4 separate regions of the Homo sapiens genome follow, and regions 1, 2 and 4 are each linked to region 3. Evidence: promoter capture Hi-C in 16 types of primary human blood cells and fetal thymus (Javierre and others, 2016). All regions are on one chromosome and are shown on one strand. The core of a region is centred on a gene start or on the middle of the fragment in contact, and the rest is flanking DNA. Distances in the headings are between cores, read along the strand shown.

What was found. Contacts are between HindIII fragments. The CHiCAGO score rates a contact against its expected background, and 5 or more counts as called.
Region 1: a fragment that was not itself captured here is called in contact with the fragment with the promoter of SPINT1 in region 3 in 1 of 17 cell types (M1 macrophages); the score reaches 5.0 in M1 macrophages.
Region 2: a fragment that was not itself captured here is called in contact with the fragment with the promoter of SPINT1 in region 3 in 1 of 17 cell types (M1 macrophages); the score reaches 5.4 in M1 macrophages.
Region 4: a fragment that was not itself captured here is called in contact with the fragment with the promoter of SPINT1 in region 3 in 3 of 17 cell types (M0 macrophages, M2 macrophages and endothelial precursors); the score reaches 5.6 in M0 macrophages.

The regions. Positions count from the first base shown.
Region 1 is chr15:40,616,476-40,622,327 of GRCh38, forward strand. KNL1 (kinetochore scaffold 1) reads left to right here. Exons shown (of 26, transcript NM_144508.5): 9 at 2,484-2,536; 10 at 4,165-5,852. Among named protein-coding and RNA genes, the nearest start is that of KNL1, 25 kb to the left of the region's middle. The HindIII fragment of the contact is 508 bases long and covers 4,349-4,856 here.
Region 2 is chr15:40,644,436-40,650,220 of GRCh38, forward strand. It overlaps KNL1 (kinetochore scaffold 1), which reads left to right. Exons shown (of 26, transcript NM_144508.5): 15 at 562-652; 16 at 1,221-1,337; 17 at 2,552-2,639. Among named protein-coding and RNA genes, the nearest start is that of RAD51-AS1, 48 kb to the right of the region's middle. The HindIII fragment of the contact is 1,538 bases long and covers 567-2,104 here.
Region 3 is chr15:40,839,969-40,845,762 of GRCh38, forward strand. It overlaps SPINT1 (serine peptidase inhibitor, Kunitz type 1), which reads left to right and starts at 4,080. Exons shown (of 11, transcript NM_003710.4): 1 at 4,080-4,218; 2 at 4,522-5,061. The coding sequence starts at 4,587. It overlaps SPINT1-AS1 (SPINT1 antisense RNA 1), which reads right to left and starts at 4,556. Exons shown (of 2, transcript NR_146468.1): 1 at 4,211-4,556. RefSeq lists silencers at 3,518-3,700, 3,862-4,091, 4,172-4,231, 4,522-4,761 and an enhancer at 3,653-4,224. The HindIII fragment of the contact is 21,246 bases long and covers 1-5,794 here.
Region 4 is chr15:40,699,062-40,705,165 of GRCh38, forward strand. RAD51 (RAD51 recombinase) reads left to right here. Exons shown (of 10, transcript NM_002875.5): 3 at 2,003-2,140. Among named protein-coding and RNA genes, the nearest start is that of RAD51, 6.9 kb to the left of the region's middle. The HindIII fragment of the contact is 5,309 bases long and covers 1,968-6,104 here.

The sequences.
Region 1 (5,852 bases), core at 3,353-5,852, 220 kb before region 3:
CTTGGACTCCCACTCATTCAGTCATTCACTGAAGTCAGGAATCAAGAAGTCATTTTCAATTCTTCCTTTATGTCTAATGGCCATTTGGCCTACTTTCTGTTTTGTCTCCTAAATGTCTTGAAAATCGTTACCTATTCTGTATTCCTTCTGTGACTGCTTTAATTCAAGTTGTTATTATTTTTTCTTGGGCTACTGTATTTCATTTCTTATCCTTCCAATCCATTCTCCATATTTCTAAATTTGATTATGTTACCTCCCAGCTTAAAATGGTTCAATGACACTGTTTTGCTTACAGAATAAAGCCCATACTCCTTAGCAATGAGTTAGAATGTCCTTTATCACTTGGCCTGTTTTCTTCTCCAAACTTATCTCCTACCCATTATATAGGTATCCCATGCTCTAGCCCATGATGAATTATTTGCAGTTCACTATATAAACTCTTTTTCTGCCTATATGCATTTATTTTTCATTTTATTTCATTTTATTTTTTTGAGACGGAGTCTCACTCTGTCACCCAGGCTGAAGTGAGGTGGTGCGATCTTGGCTCACTGCAACCTCCGCCTCCCAGGTTCAAGCGATTTTCCTGCCTCAGCCTCCCGAGTAGCTGGGATTACAGGCACGTGCCACCAGGCCGAGCTGATTTTTGTATTTTTAGTAGAGATGGGGTTTCACCATGTTGGCCAGGCTGGTCTCAAACTCCTGACCTCAGATGATCCACCGCCTTGGCCTCCAGAGTGCTTGGATTACAGGCGTGAGCCTCCGCACTCAGCCCCTATATGCATTTATAAATGCTATTTTCTCTATCTAAAGTGATCTTTCTACTCCAGTTTGCCTATCAGGCTTCTCATTTTTCACTTCACTTAGTTTAACTTCAGTGCTATCCAAAGTGTCCAGTCCACAAACTAACTGCTCAGTCCATGACAGAAAAGGAATTTGTACCATAATGTGCCTTAACTGTGGCATTAAGCCACAGTTTAGTTTAGTTTACACTTTTTTCCTAGCAATTATTATTATATGATTTATGTTTGCCGCCAGCTCCTTATCTCGTTATGAATAGGTAACAAGCAGTTCACAGTCTGGCACCATACTTCAAGTAGCACTGGCTTAAATGGAACCCTCTCTGGCAAAACTAAGGAGTTAGTCAGATGTTCTGTGCTCCCATAACACCTCTTTTATTTTTCAGTATATTTTAGAATTTATCACATTGTACTTTAAGTATTTCTGGCTGTCTTATTAAAGAGGCCAAACTTTTTTTGCAGGCGGTGGGAGATACTCCTCCTTGAGGAGCACAGCTACCCCATAGGCAGTGTGCTCAGAATAGCCTGAACTACCATCTCTGAGAGTCCAGAAATTCAGAAATTTTGTCTTGTTCTTCTTTATACCTTAGTAGACATTTGAGGTGTGTTCGTTTGTTTGTTTTGTTTTTTCATGTAATAGGTTCTGAACCAACATTTGTTGAAAAAATGAATGGAAGCCTGAAATATAAATAAGGCTTTTAGTAAAAAAAAAAAAAAAAAAAAAAAAAAAAAAAAAAAAAAAGCTTATAATTATTTCATTATATGTACTCAAGCTCGTCATACATTCTTTAATGTGTTCTAAAGATTTGCCTTTAAACTTTAAATGTAAGTATTTTTAAATGTATTTCCTGTTTTAATATAGCCTTTTGAATCCCTTCCTTATTTACAAAGTCTGATTTGTAGTTCTAAAATAAGTCTTGAGTCTAATCCTTTATTTCCATTTTCATTGCTCTGTTGCCCTAACATGACCTCTTGCGTTAATCTGAACTATTGTAGTAACTTCCTTATTGGTTTATCTTCTCTTGAATCAACTTCTCCTTATTACTTTTTACTATTTTTCTAAAATGCATTATATTTTATAATGGGATTATTTTTATAAAGCACATGTGTCTTATCATGGGAATATCTAGATTCCTTAACATAGAATAAAAGACCCTTCAGAATCCTACCCTAACCTTTCAGTCTCATCATTTGATACTCTTCTCCATGGGACTTCTACTATCCAGGAAATAAAAATAGAGAAGTGAATAATAATAATAATAATAAGTAGTAGTCCAAACTTTCCATCTTTAAAATCACCACCACATTATAAAAATATTTCAGCCACACAGAGGATACAATAATTATTGGTCTCTCTGTCACTAACATAGGATAATTAAGTCTTATGAAATTTTATATGTTCCCAACACAAAAGATAAATGTTTGAGGTGGTGGATATTCCAGTTACCCTGATTTGATCATTACACAATGTATACAAGTATCAAAATATCACATGTAACACAAAAATATGTACAACAATGATGTATCAATTTTTAAAAAATTAAAAAAATTTAATACGTAAGTTCTTAAGGGCTTAGTTACTGGTAAATTCTAGTAAATACTTGTAACTGATGAAGAACCTAAGAAAAGGAAAATCAGGCTCAGTGTTATATTTTCTGACTACAGTTTTTTCTTTTTTCTAAATAGGGATGAACACATTGCTTTCTGCTCCCATTCATACCCAGATGCAACAGAAGGAGGTATGAGTTCATGCAAATACCTTCATATTGTAATGTCATTTGATTGTTAAAACAGAAAACACAATTCAATGATAATGGCATAGTTTAGGGATGACTTAAAAAAATGAATCAGCATAAACTGGAAAGGCTTCCTACCTTTCCAGTTAACTTAAGGATAGTTAAGTCACAGCCAGTTTAAGTAATGGGAGATACAGTATACCAGTACCTCTCAAAGTTTAAAGAGCACATGAGTCTTTATTTCTATTTCCTTAGTGATACTAGTACACAAGTCCATAGGCCATACTTTCAGTAGCAAAGAGTTAATCTGTGTCCTCACTGAGAAAACTGTTGTAGCACACAGTGTAATATATATATATATATATATATTTTAGGCTATCTCCTACAAGAAGGATTTTTTTTGGTTGTTGTTAGACACAGTCTTACACTGTTGCCCAGGCTGGAGTGCAGTGGCACAATCTTGGCTCATTGCAGCCTCAATCTTCTGGGCTGAAGCGATCCTCCCACCTCAGCCTCCTGAGTGGCTGGGACTACAGGTGCATGCCACCATGCCTAGCTAATTTTGTTCATTTTTTTGTAGAGACAAGGTCTCACTCTGTTGCCCAGGCTGGTCTTGAACTCCTGGGCTCAAGGGATCTTTCTGCCTTGGCTTCTCAAAGTGCTGGGATTACAAGTGTGAGCCACCAAGCCCAGTCTAGAATGTAATATAGATTAGCCATCATGGGCTTATGTCTTTCCTAGACTTTTAAAATTTAGGATAAGAATGACCTATTCAATATAGTAATTAGAATTTTTGTCATGTTTACATTTGGTGCTGTCAGTGTTTTTAATTTTTTAGTCATTCTAGTGGGTGTATAATTAACCTTGAATTTTTAATTTGTCCCAAAACACTAAAAAGTAAATTACTCGCAGACTTTAGATTTCTTTTTCTTTTCCTAATAGATTGGGTATTACTCTGTTGCCGAAGTTGGAGTGCAATGGTGTGATCCTAGCCTATGACAGCTCAAACTCCTGGACTCGAGCAGTCCTCCCACCTCAGCCTTCCTAGTAGCTAGGACAACAGGCATGCACCACTGTGCCTAATTTTTATAATTTTTTGTAGAGACAGGATCTTACTTTGTTACTCCTGGCTTCAGGCAATCCCCCTGCCTCAGCCTTCCAAAGTGCTTGGATTACAGGCGTGAGCCACTGTGCCTAGCCTAGAATAATTTTTTTTTTTTTTTGAGACAGAGTCTTGCTCTGTTGCCCAGGCAGTGGTGCAATCTCAGCTCGCTGCAAGCTCCGCCTCCCAGGTTCACACCATTCTCCTGCCTCAGCCTCCCGAGTAGCTGGGACTACAGGTGCCCGCCACCATGCCTGGCTTATTTTCTTTTTTGTATTTTTTAGTAGAGACGGGGTTTCACCATGTTAGCCAGGATGGTCTCGATCTCCTGCCCTCGTGATCCACCCACCTCGGCTTCCCAAGAATAATTTTTAATGACAAATTATATGCAACATGCTACACCATTGATTCAAGCAAACCAACGTGTTATGAAACCATCACTGAGGATTTTTTATATAATACATGTTGTAAAATGCCTTTTTAAAAGTTTGCTTTTGTTCTGATCTCTTATATTTTGCTTTCATTATAGTTTTCAATTATAGAACATACCCGTGAAAGGAAACATGCAAATGACCAGACAGTCATTTTTTCAGATGAAAACCAGATGGACCTGACATCAAGTCACACTGTAATGATTACCAAAGGCCTTTTAGATAATCCCATAAGTGAAAAGTCCACCAAGATAGATACCACATCATTTCTAGCTAATTTAAAGCTTCACACCGAGGACTCAAGAATGAAAAAAGAAGTAAATTTTTCCGTGGATCAAAACACTTCTTCAGAAAATAAAATAGATTTCAATGACTTCATAAAAAGATTGAAAACAGGAAAATGTAGTGCTTTTCCTGATGTGCCTGATAAAGAAAATTTTGAGATACCTATTTATTCCAAGGAACCGAACAGTGCCTCTTCTACACATCAAATGCATGTATCTCTTAAGGAAGATGAAAATAACAGTAATATTACTAGGCTCTTTAGAGAAAAAGATGATGGGATGAATTTCACCCAGTGTCATACAGCCAATATTCAGACATTGATTCCCACATCCAGTGAGACCAACTCACGGGAATCTAAAGGTAATGATATTACAATTTATGGCAATGACTTTATGGACTTGACATTTAACCACACTTTGCAGATCTTACCTGCAACAGGTAATTTTTCTGAAATAGAAAATCAAACTCAGAATGCCATGGATGTAACAACAGGTTATGGAACTAAAGCTTCAGGAAATAAAACAGTTTTTAAGAGTAAACAAAATACTGCTTTTCAAGACCTTTCCATAAACTCTGCAGACAAAATACATATTACCAGAAGTCATATTATGGGGGCAGAAACTCACATAGTCTCACAGACTTGTAATCAGGATGCCAGAATATTAGCCATGACCCCAGAATCTATATATTCTAATCCATCTATTCAAGGTTGTAAGACTGTTTTCTATTCTAGTTGTAATGATGCCATGGAAATGACCAAATGTCTCTCAAATATGAGAGAGGAGAAAAATTTGCTAAAGCATGACAGTAATTATGCTAAAATGTATTGCAATCCAGATGCTATGTCTTCTCTCACAGAGAAAACTATTTATTCCGGAGAGGAGAACATGGACATTACCAAGAGTCATACAGTTGCAATAGATAATCAAATTTTTAAACAAGATCAATCAAATGTGCAAATAGCAGCTGCACCAACACCCGAAAAAGAAATGATGCTCCAAAATCTTATGACCACATCAGAAGATGGGAAAATGAATGTAAATTGTAACTCAGTTCCTCATGTATCTAAGGAAAGAATACAGCAGAGCCTGTCAAATCCTTTGTCTATTTCATTGACTGATAGAAAGACTGAACTCTTATCAGGTGAAAATATGGATTTGACTGAAAGTCACACAAGTAACTTAGGAAGTCAGGTTCCTCTTGCAGCTTATAATCTAGCACCGGAGAGTACCAGTGAATCTCACTCTCAGAGCAAAAGCTCTTCAGATGAATGTGAAGAAATTACCAAAAGTCGTAATGAACCATTTCAGCGATCAGACATAATAGCCAAAAACAGCTTAACCGACACCTGGAACAAAGACAAAGATTGGGTTTTGAAGATTTTGCCCTACCTTGATAAAGATTCTCCTCAGTCAGCTGATTGTAATCAGGAGATAGCAACAAGCCATAATATAGTCTACTGTGGTGGAGTTCTTGATAAACAAATAACTAATAGAAATAC
Region 2 (5,785 bases), core at 86-2,585, 200 kb before region 3:
TGGGCAGGCAGGAGACAGTGGCCTTCCTCTATCTCAACTGCAAGAGGCTTTCGTCTTTTACTAATCCACCTCAGCACAGACCATTTACGGGTGTCGGGCTGGGGGACAGTCAGGTCTTTCTCATCCCACGAGGCCATATTTCAGACTATCACATGGGGAGAAACCTTGGACAATACCCCGCTTTCAAGGGCAGAGGTCCCTGCGGCTTTCCGCAGTGCATTGTGCCCCTGGTTTATTGAGACTAGAGAATAGCGATGACTTTTACCAAGTATACTGCTTGTAAACATTTTGTCAACAAGGCACGTCCTGCACAGCCCTAGATCCCTTAAACTTTGATTTCATACAACACATGTTTTTGTGAGCTTCAGGTTGGGTCAAAGTGGCTGGGGCAAAGTGGTTGGGGCAAAGCTACAAATTAACAACATCTCAGCAAAACAGTTGTTCAAAGTACAGGTCTTTTTCCAAATGGAGTCTCTTACGTCTTTCCTTTCTACATAGACACAGTAACAGTCTGATCTCTTTCTTTTCCCTACAGTGCTAATTAACTTTTCCGTATTTTAGATTAAAGCTTTCTGCATCGAACCAAGATAAGCTGTTGGTTGATATAAATAAGAACCTGTGGGAAAAAATGAGACACTGCTCTGACAAAGAGGTACTTTTGTCTCATTTTCTGAATGAGAATCAGTGAAGACATTCTGAACGATGTTTATTGTGAAATGAGTAACTGTTACTTGGTCATAGTGATGAGTTATTTAACTTATTTTTTAAGTGTAATGTGGTACCAAGGTCTTATTTAATTACACACAATTGTTAATATATAATCTTTTCAAACCTGAGATGATCAATTTAATATATGAAATATAGTTGAAGTTTATTTAGAGTTCCCTCCTTGCTATTTGCCTTTCACTTAGATTTAGACGAAGAAAAGATTTACTTTAATTGATTAAATAGCAAGCAACCCATTTTATATGTGCCCTAATATATTAAAAAGTTTCATTAACTAAGAGCCTGTCATTTTCTAATTTATAATATGAATAAGTGAATTAAAGGCAGGAATCAAAACTGAAATCTTTTTTCTGGTCTTAGACAATTACATGGAATTAAATTTGCAAATGACAAATATCCTGCCTTAGGATAGGCAAAGCCTAGCCTTCCTAGACCATTTACCTCTTCTGACTCGTTTGTTTTAGTACAGTGTTCTCTATAACTTTCCCTTCCAGCTGAAGGCCTTTGGAATTTATCTTAACAAAATAAAGTCATGTTTTACCAAGATGACTAAAGTCTTCACTCACCAAGGAAAAGTGGCTCTGTATGGCAAGCTGGTGCAGTCAGCTCAGGTAATTTGAGACAGTTAATATCATAGAAAGAGAGAGATATTAAAATTACTTTCTAATGGTTATAGAATATGAAGAATCTTCCTTAGAAGACATGTGAATAAGACTTGGGCAAAAACTTAACAATTAAGAGGTAAGGTTCAATTTGTCAAAAGTGGCAAATCCTGACATCTTGAGTAATACTGGAATATAATTACTAATGTGGGCCTATGTCTCATCTCAAATACTATTATCCATCATACATACTGAAATAAAATACATAGGATTCTGGTCTCCCATTGCTAAGGACTATACCATAGTATTATCTTCTTCATAGTCCATACTAAGCTGTATATGTATGCACATGTGTTTAAAGTAGCATTTCCCAAAATGATTAGCTTTTTTAAAAGGCTCTGCATAAAAAAACTTTCCATTGGCAAGTAAGTATGGGAAATGTTGCAAGCAATATGCCCTTTCAGAGAAACATAATTTTTTAAAGTCTAAGCATAAATGCTGTAATTCTTTTTGACCACTGTTTCCTATGTTTAGTTTATCATAGAAATGTTTTTAAGTAATAAATATTAATATATTGTATTCCATGGAACACCTATAGAAATGCTAAAATAAAGTACCAGAATTAGTTTTATGTCAATATGCTTTTTAAATTATTTCATTTTCTTTTAATAAAATATTTTATTAAATTTATAAAATAAACATTTTATTTTCCAGAGTTCTTTTGGCTAAAACTTATTTTAATAAAATTTACTTTTATTTTTTAAGTTCCAACCTAAAGCTTTGACCTTCATTTTAAGATTTGCCTGTTTGTAGGCTGGGTGCGGTGGCTCACGCCTGTAATCCCAGCACTTTGGGAGGCCAAGGCGGGCGGATCACGAGGTCGGGAGATCGAGACCATCCTGGCTAACACGGTGAAACCCCATCTCTACTAAAAATACAAAAAATTAGCCAGGCATGGTGGCAGGCACCTGTAGTCCCAGCTAATCAGGAGGCTGAGGCAGGAGAATGGCATGAACCCGGGAGGCGGAGCTTGCAATGAGCCCAGATGGCGCCACTGCACTCCAGCCTGGGTAACAGAATGAGACTCCGCCTCAAAAAAAAAAAAAAAAAAAAAAGATTTGCCTGTTTGTGATCATGATAGAGCGATTATGTGAGCAGTTTGAACCATTTATAATATTTTCTTTAGAGGTTTAACTTGACAGTCTATAATCTTTTGTATTTAGAATGAGAGGGAGAAACTTCAAATAAAGATAGATGAGATGGATAAAATACTTAAGAAGATCGATAACTGCCTCACTGAGATGGAAACAGGTAAAGTATTTTAAATACTTTTCCAAAAGAAAATTTAATTTTATCTAAATGCTCTCCTACAGTAGAGAATGTTGGTACCACGATATTGAAGACTTGTATTAGCAACTTGAGATATTAAATTAGAGTAAATTGGCTCACGCCTGTAATCCCAGCACTTTGGGAGGCCAAGCCGGGCGGATCACCTGAGGTCAGGAGTTTGAGACCAGCCTGGCCAACATGGTGAAACCCCATCTCTACTAAAAATTTTAAAATTAGCTGGGCGTGGTGACGGGCGCCTGTACTCCAGCTACTCGGGAGGCTGAGGCAGGAGAATAGTTTGAACCCAGGATGTGCAGGTTGCAGTGAGCCAAGATTGCGCCACTGCACTCCAGCCTGGGTGGCAGAGCGAGACTCCATCTCAAAAAAAATAATAATAAAATAAATAAATAAATAAATTAGAGCAAATTAAAGTTCCTTTACTATAGTCATCCATAATACAATCAAGAGCTGCTCAAGATAACCCAGACTGTAATTTTGTGTTTTTTAATAGATGAATTTATCTCAGTTTGAAAACCGTCTATCCTTTCAGTTTGGTCTTTCATAATCCCAACTTTTTAGAGTTACTCTCCTGAAACTCCTTTCTCAAAGATCACATAATTCTGCATAGTCATCAAATTTTGTTCTTCTCAGTCCTTAGCCATTTTGACCTCTTTCAGCATTTGACACTGATGACTGTTCTTTTCTTCCTGAAATGTTCATCTCCCTTAATCTCTGTGATAATGCACTATCTTGACCCAGTTGTTTTCTCCTGGCTGCTCAATCCAGCTTCTCTGTTGGCCTCTCTTTCTCTAACTGATCCCTTGTGGGGATTTAGATTTTATCATCTGTTCTTTTCTATATTCTCTCCCCTAGTGCTTTCGTGTGCCTTAATAATTATGTGACTGATTCCCAAATTTAAATTCCTCAAGCATTTTTTGAGCATATACTGCATGCCAGATACTGTGCTTAGTATCAGAAAATAAATAAAAATATTTAAGACACAGATTTTGCCCTAAAGGTAGCTTATAATCATTTCAGGTGAGGGCATCTTTAGCCTCTCTTTCTTGAATTCTAGACTCAATTTCTAGCTTCCTTCTGAACCTGTATGCAAAAAATATCCTTAAACACCTTAAACTGTGAATACAGCCTGGGCAACAGAGTGAGGCACTATCTCTACAAAAAACAAGAGATTAGCTCAGCGTGATGGCACATACCTGTAGTCCTAGCTACTTGGGAGGCTGAGGCAGGAAGATCTCTTGAGCCCAGGAGGTCAAGACTACAGTGAGGCAAGATCACACCACTGCACTCCAGCCTGTGCAACAGAGCAAACTAAATAAATAAATTTAAATATATTCTCCGAGCTCAAAAATAAAATTCAAAAACTTGTTCTCTCTTATGATGTTTCTCATCTTTATGTATAGCAGTCACAATTCTTATACATTGTAAAAGCTCAATACTTTCATTGTCTTTGAGGCTCTCTTAACAAGTCCTGTCATCGGCAGCTTCAGCATCTCATGTGTTTATTTTCCTTTCCTATTAAGGCTCACCTTAATTCTGAACTGTGCTATTTCAGTCTTCTAACTAATCTTTATACATTCTTACCATTATTCCACCTTCTTCCATTCCAACCTGCACATTGCTGCCAGATTAATAATTATGAAAGACAGTTTTCATTAATGTTACTCCTCTGAAAAACTTCTGTCTTTCCATTTATTATAAAGTCCAAACTTAACTTTCTTTTTTTTTTTTTTTTTTGAGATGGTATTTCACTGTCGTTACCCAGGCTGGAGTCAATGGCACAATCTCTGCTCACTGCAACCTCCGCCTCCCAGATTCAAGCGATTTTCCTGCCTGAGCTTCCCGAGTAGCTGGGATTACAGGCATGCACCACCAGGCCCTGCTAATTTTTTTTTTTTTGTATTTTTAGTAGAGACGGGGTTTCTCCATGTTGGTCAGGCTGATCTCGAACTCCCGACCTCAGGTGATCCGCCCGCCTCGGCCTCCCAAAGTGCTGGGATTACGGGTGTGAGCCACTGCGCCTGGCCCAAACTTAACTTTCTCTGTGGTTGGCTTAAAGAAAAAAAAAAAGTCCAAACTTCTGAGCTTGACATTTCATATCTTCTACAGTTGTTTTCAGATTTACATGATTTGTTACTACTCCCATACACCTCTTAAATTCTAACCAAACATTGCTATTTTTATGCAGTTCTGCCACTTTTTTGAGACAGAATCTCTCTCTGTCACCCAGGCTGGAGTGCAGTGGCATGATCTCTGCTCACTGCAACCTCTGCCTCCTGGATTCAAGCAATTCTTGTGCCTCAGCCTCCCAAGTAGCTGGGATTACAGGCATGCACCACCACCCCCAGCTAATTTTTGTATTTTTAGTAGAGATGGTGTTTCACCATCTTGGCCAGGCTGGTCTCAACTCCTGGCCTCAAGTGATCTGCCCATCTCAGCCTCCCAAAGTGCTAGGATTACAGGCATCAGCCACTACGCCTGCCTTTTTCTTTTATTTAAAAAAAAAAAAAGAGAGGCAGAGTCTCACTCTGTTGCCCAGGCTGGGGTGCAGTGGCATGATCATAGCTCACTGCAGCTTCAAACTCCTGGGCTCAAGGAATCCTCCTTCCTCAGCCTCCTGAGTAGTTGGGACTATAGGCACATGCCACTAGCCTGATCATTTCTACTTTGGTCTTTGCTACTACATACTACGTTCTCTTTCTGTTTTTCACCAAAGAAAGTAGTCTCTTTTCCTTGAGCTCTCATGGCTCTTTTGTTAGTACTTCTTATATTACCCATCACATCTACTTGTATTATAGTTATTTTGTATAGTTTATCTTCCTGATTAAATTATAAGCTCTGTGGAGGCAGGAATCAGCTCTTCTTTTTCTCCATCTCCTTCAGAGTCCCTAGGACTATATTTCATACAGAGTAAGTGCCTAGTACATGTTTTTTGCACTGAATTGACCATGAGTACATGAATTCCATAGTCTAAAGTTCACCCCTTTGTTGACTACCTTACTTTCTCTTTCACAGAAAAAAAAAAAAAAATAGAAACCATCAGACTAGAACTTCTGAACTTCCTACTACCAAAGAAACAATCTGTCGTTTAATAAATTGTTTTTGATTGA
Region 3 (5,794 bases), core at 2,830-5,329:
AAATTTATTTTTTCAGACACTATGTTGCCCAGGCTGGTCTCGAACTCCTGACCTCAAGCAATCCTCTTGCCTTGGCCTCCCAAAGTGTTGGGACTACAAGCGTAAGCCACGGTGCCCAGCCAGGGGAAGGGTTTTAGCTGACTCTCCTCTGACAGCTCTGACACTCTCTGCCTAAGCAAATACTGAACTTCATGAGTCGGTCCAGGGAACAGTTGGCTCTGTACACTCTGCCAGAGAAGTTCTTGGGGATGACTGAGGGTCTGAACAGGTGAGGGACAGATGAAGGCAGGGCTGGAGGAGGGAACCACATGGCAGTGTGCAGGGTGGCCTGGAGTTCCATCAGGAAGCTGGCACAGAGCCTAGATTAAGGGCAGCAGTGGGAACAGACAAGAGATGGATGTGAGTGATTACCAAGGAAGACTGTCATCAAATATGGTATGTGGAGGTCATCACGGTGTGTCTCTCTCTTCATTATGGAAGCATCCCATGTTCACTGAAGGGATCTTGGAAAATATTTTTAAAACTAGAAAGAAGAAATGTTATCCTACAGTCTCACCATTCAAATACCATCACTTTCCCTACTTTGATGGCATACCTTATAGTCTTTCTTCTCTTCACATGTAGTTTTTCTTATTAGTATGTAAGAAGCAGCATAAGGTAGTATGGAAAGTATGGCTTTTAATGTCAAAAAGACTTCAGATACAATCCTGGCTCTGTCACTTTTTTAAAAGAATCATTTCGACTTTTATTTTGTTTACTTATTTTTGAGACAGGGTCTAGTTCTTTCACCCATGCTGGAGTGCAGTGGCATGATCATAGCTCACTGCCACCTTGACCTCCCTGGCTCAAGCAATCCCCCCACCTCAACCTCCTGAGTAGCTGGTACTACAGGCATGCGCCACTATGCCTGGCTAATTTTTTGTATTTTTTTTTATAGAGACGGGGTCTTGCCATGTTGCCCAGGCTGGTCTTGAACTCCTGGGCTCAAGCAATCCTCCTGCCTCAGCCTCCCATAGTGCTTGGATTACAGACATGAGCCATTGCACCTGGCCTCAACTTTTATTTTAGATTCAGTGGGTACACATGCAGGTTTGTTACATGGGTATAGGGTTTGGGGTACAGATGAGCCTGTCACCCAGGTAGTGAGCATATTACCTAAAAGGTTGTTTTTCAGCCCACGCTCCCCACGCTCCCCTCCCTCCTTCTCTCTTCTGGTAGTCCTCAGTGTCTATTGTTCCATCATTATGTCCATGTGTACTCAATGCTTAGCTCCCATTTATAAGTGAGAATATGTGGTATTTGGTTTTCTGTTCCTGCCTTAATTTGCTTAGGATAATGGCCTCCAGCTGCATTCGTATTGCTGGAAAGGACATGATTTTGTTAATTTTATGGCTGCATAGTATTCCATGGTACGTATGAAGTACATTATCTTTATGCAATCCATCATTGATGGGCATCTAGGTTGATTCCATGTCTTTGCTATTGTGAATAGTGCTGTGATGAACGTACAAGTGCATGTGTCTTTTTGGAAAAACAATATATTTTCCTTTGGGTATATACCCAGTAATAGGATTGCTGAGTTGAATGGTAGTTCTAAGTTTTTGAGAAATCTCCAAGCTGCTTTCCACAGTGGCTGAACTGATTTACATTCCCACCAACAATGTATAAGCGTTCCCTTTTCTCTGCATCCTCACCACCATGTGTTTTTGTTGTTGTTGTTGTTGTCGTTTCAAGTAACATTTATTGAGAACTCTTTGTGTCAAATGCTTTGTCTGCATTAACTCAATTAATCCTCATAAAAAACCTTATGAAGCCCCACTTCCCATTCAAGGAGACTAAGGCAGAGAGATCAAATAACTTGCACAAGGCCACACGAATAGTAAGTGGCAGATGCAAGAGCTAAATCCAGTAGTCTGAGTCTGAAGCTCACAAGTTCAACTTCTCTACAACCTGTCACCACTCTTCGTTCACTACCTGACCTTGATGGAGTCAGTGAACCTTTCTGCAAAGTGGAAGCAATTTTTAGAGTTGTCCTGAGCATTAGCAATCCTATGTCAAGTGCCTGGAGGGAACACAGTGGGCATCTCAACAAATGGTGGGTGCTCACCACTTGAAAGTGAGTTATGGGTTTAAGCAAGTTGAATCTGAGGTGAGGGCAGAACTTCCAGATGAAGTCAGAATTGCAAAGGCCATAAAGCCCAGGGTTTAAGCACTGAAGCCATGGAATTGGCCTGCCTGGGCTCCAATCCCTACTCTGCCGCTTCAATGCTGAATGACCTGACAAGTCAGTTTACCTGTCTGAGCCTGTTTGCTCATTTGTAAAATGGGGCTAAAAATACTACCTCCCTAGGTTTGTTTTGAGTATAGGGTAATATGTGGGCAGTGCTTAGGAACAGAGTTTGGGCATTGTCAGTGCTGAATTCATGTTGGTTTTTATAATGGTGTGTATAATGGATGTAATGATAAATTTATGGTGATGTAATATTACCATAAGGTAATATTTTCCTGTATTAAGATTCTTGAGGTCAGGCACAGTGGCTCACGCCTATAATCCTAGCACTTTGGGAGGCCGAGGTGGGTGGATCACCTGAGGTCAGGAGTTCAAGACCAGCCTGGCCAAAAAGGTGAAACCTCGTTTCTACTAAAAATACAAAAATTAGCTCGGCGTGGTGGTGCCCACCTGTAAGCCCAGCTACTTGGGAGGCTGAGGCAGAATTTCCTGAATCTGGAAGGCAGAGGTTGCAGTGAGCCGAGATCGTGCCATTGCACTCCAGCCTGGGTGACAGAGCAAGACTCCGTCTCAAAAAAAAAAAAAAAAAAATAAATAAATAAATAAATAAAGATTCTTGAATGTGTTAGCCATAAGGGGAAATCAAATCACAACAAAACCCTTTCTTCCCAGTGACTGCACAATCATTTTCTTCATTCCCAGCATACCACCATTGTTGTATATCCACCAGTGTGCCAGGGTCTGTGGATAAACCCTAAACATCCAGAGAAGGGGAGACAGGCCCCAGATTCCCACCCCAACACGCATCATGTGAGCAGCTGGAGGATGTTGCAGTTCAGCAAAATCCAAGGGTTGGCCACAGGATCTGCTAGGCAAAGCTGCTCTGGATGAGAAACTGGGAAGAATGTTCCCATTGGTTTGGGGGTTGTTAAGCCATCAGGAAAAGGTTTGGAATCTGTATTTTAAGAGAGCATGCTATGTGATTCCTTCCTCCAGCCCTGCCTTCATCTGTCTTTCACCTGTTCAGACCCTTGCCGTAGAGAATGGTCTCTTAAGAGTTTTTTACTCAGGAGGAGCAATGAGCTTGGCTTCAAGGAGTCCACTGTTTCGTGAAGGGCATTAACTCAGCTACTTGGTGAACTGGAACCTCCAGGCTTCCAAGGATGACATTTCCCTGGAAGAAAGTAGCCAGCAGCGTCCCCTTTGTGAAAGAGAGGAAGCCTGGGCTCCAGGGAAGGGGGCAACAGTCCAATGAGCCATAGCAGGGAATGGACCGAACTGTACATACAAGATGAGGAGGGGCCTCGAACAACAGGGAAGCCCCGTGGAGCACGCAGGGGAGCCTGGACGCGGGGAATCGCCTCCGTTTCTCACCCTGACAGCAGGGAGGGCTTCCCGGAGCTGACAGTGAGGCAGACATCCCGGATCCCTGTTATCACAGGTGCAGCCACGCAACTTTTGGGTTACCTTCCCGCCACGAAATGGAAATGATTTCCTGAGGGCCGGAAAGATCATTTGCATCGGGCCTCAGGTCTGGGGCTGGGAAAGCAGGCCCCGGCCGGAAAGGAAGACTGGAGGCCGCCGCCCCAGAGGCCGGACCCTCGCGTCCCGGCCGCATCCCCTCCCGGCTGGGTATGCGCTTCGGGCGCGGGGCTCCCTCGCGAGGCTGGACTGGGTGGAGCCCGAGAGCCCCTCCGGGGAGCTGGCTGCCGGGGAGGCACCGGGGCTGCGGGGCCGCGGGGCGGGCCGGGCCTGGAGCTCCGCGCTAGAGGCGGCCGCAGCGCACCGGGCGTGGGCGGGGCCGGCAGCGCAAGGGTGAATGTCGGCCCCGCCCCGACGGCGCTGACTCAGTTTCACCAGAAACCAGGGGGAGAAGGCGGCCGAGCCCCAGCTCTCCGAGCACCGGGTCGGAAGCCGCGACCCGAGCCGCGCAGGAAGCTGGGACCGGAACCTCGGCGGACCCGGCCCCACCCAACTCACCTGCGCAGGTAACCCGGGCCCCCGCGCGCAAGGCCGAGGCGCAGGCGGAGCGGGCTGGAGCATGTCCGGCCCTTTGTTCTGCGCTCGTGCGTGTGTCCGGGTACTTGAGCTCCCTAGCGGTCCGCCTGTCCGTCTGTCTGGCTGCCGGGTCCCTGGAGGGCGCGTGGGAGGGCCGGGCCCGTGCGCCCTCTTCGATCCTGGGGTGCTCCGGTCCCTCCTCCCCGCCACTTCCTCCCGGCCGGCCCGCCTCCTCCAAAGTCTCCCGGGCTGATCAGGTGTGTCTCCTCCTCTGTCCCCTCCCTTCTTCTCAGGTCACCAGCACCCTCGGAACCCAGAGGCCCGCGCTCTGAAGGTGACCCCCCTGGGGAGGAAGGCGATGGCCCCTGCGAGGACGATGGCCCGCGCCCGCCTCGCCCCGGCCGGCATCCCTGCCGTCGCCTTGTGGCTTCTGTGCACGCTCGGCCTCCAGGGCACCCAGGCCGGGCCACCGCCCGCGCCCCCTGGGCTGCCCGCGGGAGCCGACTGCCTGAACAGCTTTACCGCCGGGGTGCCTGGCTTCGTGCTGGACACCAACGCCTCGGTCAGCAACGGAGCTACCTTCCTGGAGTCCCCCACCGTGCGCCGGGGCTGGGACTGCGTGCGCGCCTGCTGCACCACCCAGAACTGCAACTTGGCGCTAGTGGAGCTGCAGCCCGACCGCGGGGAGGACGCCATCGCCGCCTGCTTCCTCATCAACTGCCTCTACGAGCAGAACTTCGTGTGCAAGTTCGCGCCCAGGGAGGGCTTCATCAACTACCTCACGAGGGAAGTGTACCGCTCCTACCGCCAGCTGCGGACCCAGGGCTTTGGAGGTGAGGAGGGTGCCAAGATGGATGGGTTTGGAGAGACTCAAAAAAGGGACTGGTTATGGGGTCCTAGGGGAGACGAACATCAGAGAGGAGTTAAGGAGAGTTCACTTTTTTTTTTCTTTTTCTTTCTTTTTTTTTGCGACGGAGTCTCGCTCTTGTCGCCCAGGCTGGAGTGCAATGGCGCAATCTCTGGTTGCTCACTGCAACCTCCGTCTTCCACGTTCAAGTGATTCTTCTGTCTCAGCCTCCGGAGTAGCTGGAACTACAGGCACCCGCTACCAGACCCGGCTAATTTTTTTTTTTTTTTTTTTTTTTTTTTTTTTGGTACAGACGGGGTTTCACTATGTTGGCCAGGCTGGTCTTGAACTTCTGAACTCAGGTGATCCACCCACCTTGGCCTCCCAAAGTGCTGGGATTATTTCTACCTGAAGCCCTCCTTAGAAGTAGGCAGTACAGCCGAATCAAGCCTGGTGATCAATGGGGTGACAGATGTCACAGCCAGATCGCCTTCACATCGGTAGTAGGCAGTACAAACAGTAAACAAATGAAAGGGGACATGAGTAGGGAGGGCAGGGCCCAGGCTCTGGCTCCTGAACTCAGGATGTTCAGAGGTGATGGGCTGGTGCTCACAGGGAGGCCTTTGGCTCTGGGCTGTGTGTACTGGAGGGGAGAGGAAGTCCCCAGGACTCCTGACCTCTGGCACTGATAGGCTGATTGAAGGAGTGAGCTGTCTGGA
Region 4 (6,104 bases), core at 3,372-5,871, 140 kb before region 3:
TTATCATTTTTATTTCTGAGAGTTGGACTGTCAGAAACTAAGGCCTAGGATCCCATGGTGGAATCTCTGTGCTGTTTTTGTTTGTTTGTTTGTTTGTTTTTGATGGAGTTTCGCTCTTGTTGCCCAGGCTGGAGTGCAATGGCGTGATCTCGGCTCACCGCAACCTCTGCGTCCCAGGTTCAAGCGATTCTCCTGCCTCAGCCTCCCAAGTAGCTGGAATTACAGGCATGAGCCACCACACCCAGCTAATTTTATATTTTTAGTAGAGACAGGGTTTCTCCATGTTGGTCAGGCTAGTCTCGAACTCCTGACCTCAGGTGATCCACCCTCTTTGGCCTCCCAAAGTGCTGGGATTACAGGCATGGGCCACTGCGCCCAGCCTGTGCTGTTTTTTTGTTTGTTTTTTAAGAAATGGGTCTTAACTGTGTTGACCATGTTGATCTTGAACTCCTGGCCTCAAGCAGTCCACCTGCCTTGGCGTCCCAAACTGCTAGGATTACAGGCATGAGCCACCATGCCTGGCCAAAGCATCCTGTGCTATTTGCACTAAGTATGAAAGTGCTGTTCTGGGAATTATAGCGGCCTGGACCAGTTATGCAAGGAAGACAGGGAAGCACCTTCTCTCCATTAACCTAGATTTGTGCTGTCAGCTGTCATTGGCAGAGAGAAGGGTGTGGTGGTGTTATGGTATAAGAGACAAGCTCCAATTCAGGATTCTGCACAAGAACATTAAGCACCAGAGCTGAGGCCTTACACTATTTCTGCCCATTGTATAGAGACTGCCCTGTGAGTGCAGCTGATTTGGGCTAAGTAGGAGGAAAGCAGAGAAAGACTTGATTCTTCTGTCTCTTTTTTTCATATTTCCCATCTCTGACTAATCTTCAAGACTCTAGAAGTTAGGAGTGCAAAAGGCTAATAAAAAAAAAAGACTCTAGAAGTTACTTAAATGGATTTGTGATAAACATTTGAAAGTTCAGAGTCATAACTTCTGGTGCCATGAGCATCCTTATACTCAAACATGCATATTGCTTAAATATTAATAGCAGACATGGCTTATGTTGGCAAACTAATCTCTCCCCTCTTCTAAATTCTCCCAACCCCTGAATGCACCCACATTCACCTACTAACTCATGTTTTCCCAGAAGTCATGGTTTTGGTGGCTAATGAAACCAAAGCTGACTTGAATATAGGAAGAAAGAGGTGTCTTTGGGTGGTTTGTTTTGAGAAGAGGTATAAAAGTCCCTGACAAAAAGTAGTTTTCCTCACTGTTAATGTCAGTTGTTAGAGCAGAGCTTTCTGGTCATTGTTCAACAAAAAGTATTGACAGGCCAAGATAGTGCTCTTTATATTCTGAGCAGCCTTATCTATTTACCCTACCATAGTGTAAAAATACAGTTTTTTATGTGTGCTTGATGTGGAAAGTGTTGAGCAACACTGTCTTAAAGTGGTCTTGTAGGGCCCAAGGTCTCAGAGATCATTTAGGGTCACAAAAAAAGGTTGGGAGTTACTTTTTAATTCCAATTGCTAATAGGAGTTCTTTTTAATGTACATGGCTTAGTGCTAGTTTAAAATTATTGATTTTGATAATGAAAAGGTTGTTAATTTGTTATTAAGTACCTCATATATAGGGCTCATTTTTCAGCTTTTGCATATAATAACAGTAGGCTCTCTGTATCTCCGGATTCTGTATCAGCAAATTCAACAAACTACGTATCAAAAATTCAATCAACTACATATCAAAAAAAAGTATACAGGAGGATGTACATAGGTTATATGCAGGTAATACGCCATTTTATATAAGGGACTTGAGCATTGTTGGATTTTGTTATCTGCTGGGGGTCCTGGAACCAACTTCCCATCTCCCCCCGCCCCCCCAAGGATTTCAAGGGACAGTTGTATTACAAGTCTTCAAGCACCTCTGTGAAGTATGTAGGACACATAACATCTGTGTTAGATTAGAGAACTAAAGCTTAAATTTATCCATGGTTTTCTTCATTTGCAGCAGTGTGGCATAAATGCCAACGATGTGAAGAAATTGGAAGAAGCTGGATTCCATACTGTGGAGGCTGTTGCCTATGCGCCAAAGAAGGAGCTAATAAATATTAAGGGAATTAGTGAAGCCAAAGCTGATAAAATTCTGGTAAGTACTGCTTACTTAACCTAGGGAGGCATTAGTGGGAATAGTACAAAAGGGAATGTAGTGAAAGACTTCTTCCTTCTATCTCTTATTCTTCGGTCATCTCATTATCCTTTCCAGGGGTGACTGTTACCTGTTTCTTTTCTTCTTTTCTTTTCTTTTCTTTTTTTTTTCTTTCTTTTTTTTTTTTTTTGGAGACGGGTTCTCGCTCTGTCACACAGGGTGGAGTGCAGTGGTGCCATCTCAGCTCACTGCAACCTTCACCTCCCAAGCTCAAGCGATCCTCTCACCTCAGCCTCCCAAGTAGCTGGGACTACACTACAGGCACATGCCACCATGCCGGGGTAGTCTCGAACTCCTGAGCTCAGGCGATTCACCTACCTCAGCCTCCCAAAGTGCTGGATTATAGGTGTGAGCTACTGTGCCTGGCCTATTTATTTTTCTAGCTTCATATAGTTCTTTAACATACATACTTCCCCATGGTTACATTTTGTTTTATGAACCTATTTCTTCAGTGTTTATATAGTTACACAGTTTTATTGCCTTTACCCTTGAAGTTTTATGTAGTATAAAGCAGATTTTTTTTTTTTTTTTTTTTTTTTTTGAGACGGAGTCTCGCTCTGTTGCCAGGCTGGAGTGCAATAGCGTGATCTTGGTCTACTGCACCCTCCGCCTCTCAGGTTCAAGTGATTCTCCTGCCTCAGCCTCCCGAGTAGTTGGGACTACAGGTATGTGCCACCACACCCAGCTAATTTTTGTATTTTTATTAGAGACAGGGTTTCACCACGTTGGCCAGGATGGTCTCGATCTCCTGACCTTGTGATCTGCCCACCTCAGCCTCCTAAAGTGCTGGGATTACAGGTGTGAGCCACCGCGCCCCACCGCAAATATTTATTTATAAAATTGTATTTTCACGTATCGATTACTGTTAGCGTTAGATAAATTTATTGGATTACTCAAATGAATATTTGCTGAAGTGGTTGCTTAATTGGAAATAAGGGTTCTGAGTCCCTAACAGTATTTTTGTTAAAAGATTGTCATATTGACTAAGCCAGTAGGGGTCCCTAAAGTCTTTCTGTTTTCGCTTTTTGGGTATCAGTTTTTGTGAATGAACAAATGCTGACAGGATCTTTTCTTTTTGCCTTGCGAGATCTTGGTTTCAGAAATCAAGTCACTTCTCTGTTTCTATGAACACAACAATGCAAACCTAGAATACATGATTTGAGATGCAATATGGTATAGACTTACGTGTCTTTACTTTTCAATATTTTATGTTCTTTGTTTCTGGCCAGTAAAGATTATGATTGTATTGTTTGTTTTCTGTTTTTTTTTGAGGCAGAGTGTCGCTGTGTCACCCAGGCTGGAGCACAATGGTGCAATTTTGGCTCTGCTCACTGCAACCTCTGCCTTCCGGGTTCAAGTGATTGTCGTGCCTCAGCCTCCCAAGTAGCTGGGATTACAGGCTCCCACCACCACACGTGGCTAATTTTTGTATTTTCAGTTGAGACGGGGTTTCACCATGTTGCCCAGGCTGGTCTCAAACTCCTGGCCTCAAGCAATCTGCCCACCTCAGCCTCCCAAAGTGCTGAAATTACAGGCACTAGCCACTGTGCCCACCTTTTTTTTTTTTTTTTAAAGAAAAAAAAGAAAAGTCTCACTCTGTTGCCCAGGCTGGAGTGCAGTGGCATGATCAAAGCTCACTGCAGCTTCAGCTTCAAACTCCTGGGCTCAAGGAATTCTCAGCCTGCTGAGTAGCTGGGACTATAGGCACATGCCACTAGCCTGACCATTTCTACCAGTTTTGTCTTTGCTAATACATTCTCCTGTTTTTCACCAAAGGAAGTAGTCTATATTCCTTGAGCTCCCATGGCTTGTTAGTACTTCTCATATTACCCATCACATCTACTTGTACTATAGTTATTTTGTATAGTTTATCTTTCTGATTAAGTTATAAGCTCTGTGGAGGCAGGAATCAGCTCTTCTTTTTCTCCATATCCTTCAGAGTCCCTGGGACTATGTTTCATACGAAGTAAGTGTCTAGTACATGTTTGTTGCACTGAAATGACAGTGAGTATATGAATTGGCCAGGCTGGTCTCAAAATCCTGGCCTCAGGTAATCCGCCCATCTCAGTATCCCAAAGTGCTGGGATTACAGGCGTGAGCCACTGCACCTGGCCGTGCAATGAATTTTTAAATGAAATATTAAGTATATAGAAAAGTTTAGAGAATAAACTTTCATTGATTTTTCAGCTATTTGTTGATTTTTTTTCTTCATGGGAAATTTAAACATTATGAAAGTTTAATCTTTTTACTTTCTATGGGTCTATTTAGATTTTCTTCTTGAGTGAGTTTTGGTAGTTTATCTTTCTAAGAATTTGCTTATTTCATCTAAGTTACCTAACTTGTTGACATAGAGATGCTCACAGGGTTTCCTTATACTACTTTTTATTTACATAAAGTCAGTAGTAATGTCCCCTCTTTCATTCTTGATTTTAGTAATTTGAGTCTTTTCTCTTTTTTTCTCGGGCAATGCAGCTAAAAGTTTGTCAATTTTGTTGATATTTTCAAAGAACCAGCTTTTGGTTTCATTGATTTTTCTCTATTATTCTGCCCTCTACTTAATAGTTTCTACCCTAACCTGTATTATTTCCATCTTTCTGCTTGCTTTGTTTTGTTTGCTTTTCTTTGGAAGGTTAGGTTATGATTTATCTTTTTTATTTTTAGAGGCAGAGTCTTGTTCTGTCACTTACGTTGGAGTGCAGTGGTGTGATCATAGCTCACTGCAGCCTCCAACTCCTGGCTCAAACAAACCTTCTGCCTCAGCCTCCCAGGTAACTAGGACCACAGGCACGCCCCACCATGCCCTGCTATTTATTTTATTTTATTTTATTTTTGAGACGGAGTCTCCCTCTGTGCCCAGGCTGGAGTGCAGTGGCGTGATCTCTGCTCACTGCAACCTCTGCCTCTTGGGTTCAAGCGATTCTCCTGCCTCAGCCTCCTGAGTGGCTGGGATTACAGGCACGTGCCGCCATGCCCAGCTAATTTTTAGTAGAGACAGGGTTTCACCGTGTTAGCCAGGATGGTCTTGATCTCCTGACCTCATGATCTGCCTGCCTCAGCCTCCCAAAGTGCTGGGATTACAGTCGTGAGCCACCGCGCCAGGCCTTTTTTTTTTTTTTTTCTGATGCAGTCTCACTCTCTTGCCCAGGCTGGAGTGCGGTGGTGTGATCTCGGCTCACTGCAACCTCCGCCGCCCGGGTTCAAGCAGTTCTCCTGTTTCAGCCTCCTGAGTAGTTGGGACTACAGGCGCACGCCACCACGCCCAGCTATTTTTTGTATTTTTAGTAGAAATGGGGTTTCACCATATTGGGCAGGCTGGTCTTGAACTCCTGACTTCGTGATCTGCCCACCTCACCCTACCAAAGTGCTGGGATTCAGGCATGAGCCACCATGCCCAGCCATGCCCTACTAATTTTTTTTTTTTTTTTTGAGATGGAATCTCGCTGTGTCTCTCAGGCTGGAGTGCAGTGGTGCAAATTCAGCTCACTGCAACCTCCGCCTCCCAGATTCAAGTGATTCTTCCACCTCAGCCTCCCGAGTAGCTGGGACTACAGGCGCGTGCCACCACGCCCGGCTAATTTTTGTATTTTTAGTAGAGAGGAAGTTTCACCATGTTGGTCAGGCTGGTCTTGAACTCCTGACCTTGTGATCTGCCCACCTCAGCCTCCCAAAGTTCTGAGATTACAGAGGTGAGCCACCACACCCAGCCACCCTGCTAATTTTAAAACATTTTTAGAGCCAGGGTGCTGCTTTGTTACTCAGGCTGGTCTCAAACTCCTGGCTTCCAGCAGTCCTCCCACCTCAGCCTCCCAAAGTGCTGGGATTACAGGTGTGATTCACCACACCCAGCCTTCTTTTCTAATATAGCTGTTTATAGCTATGAATTTCTCTCTAAGCACTGCTTTTC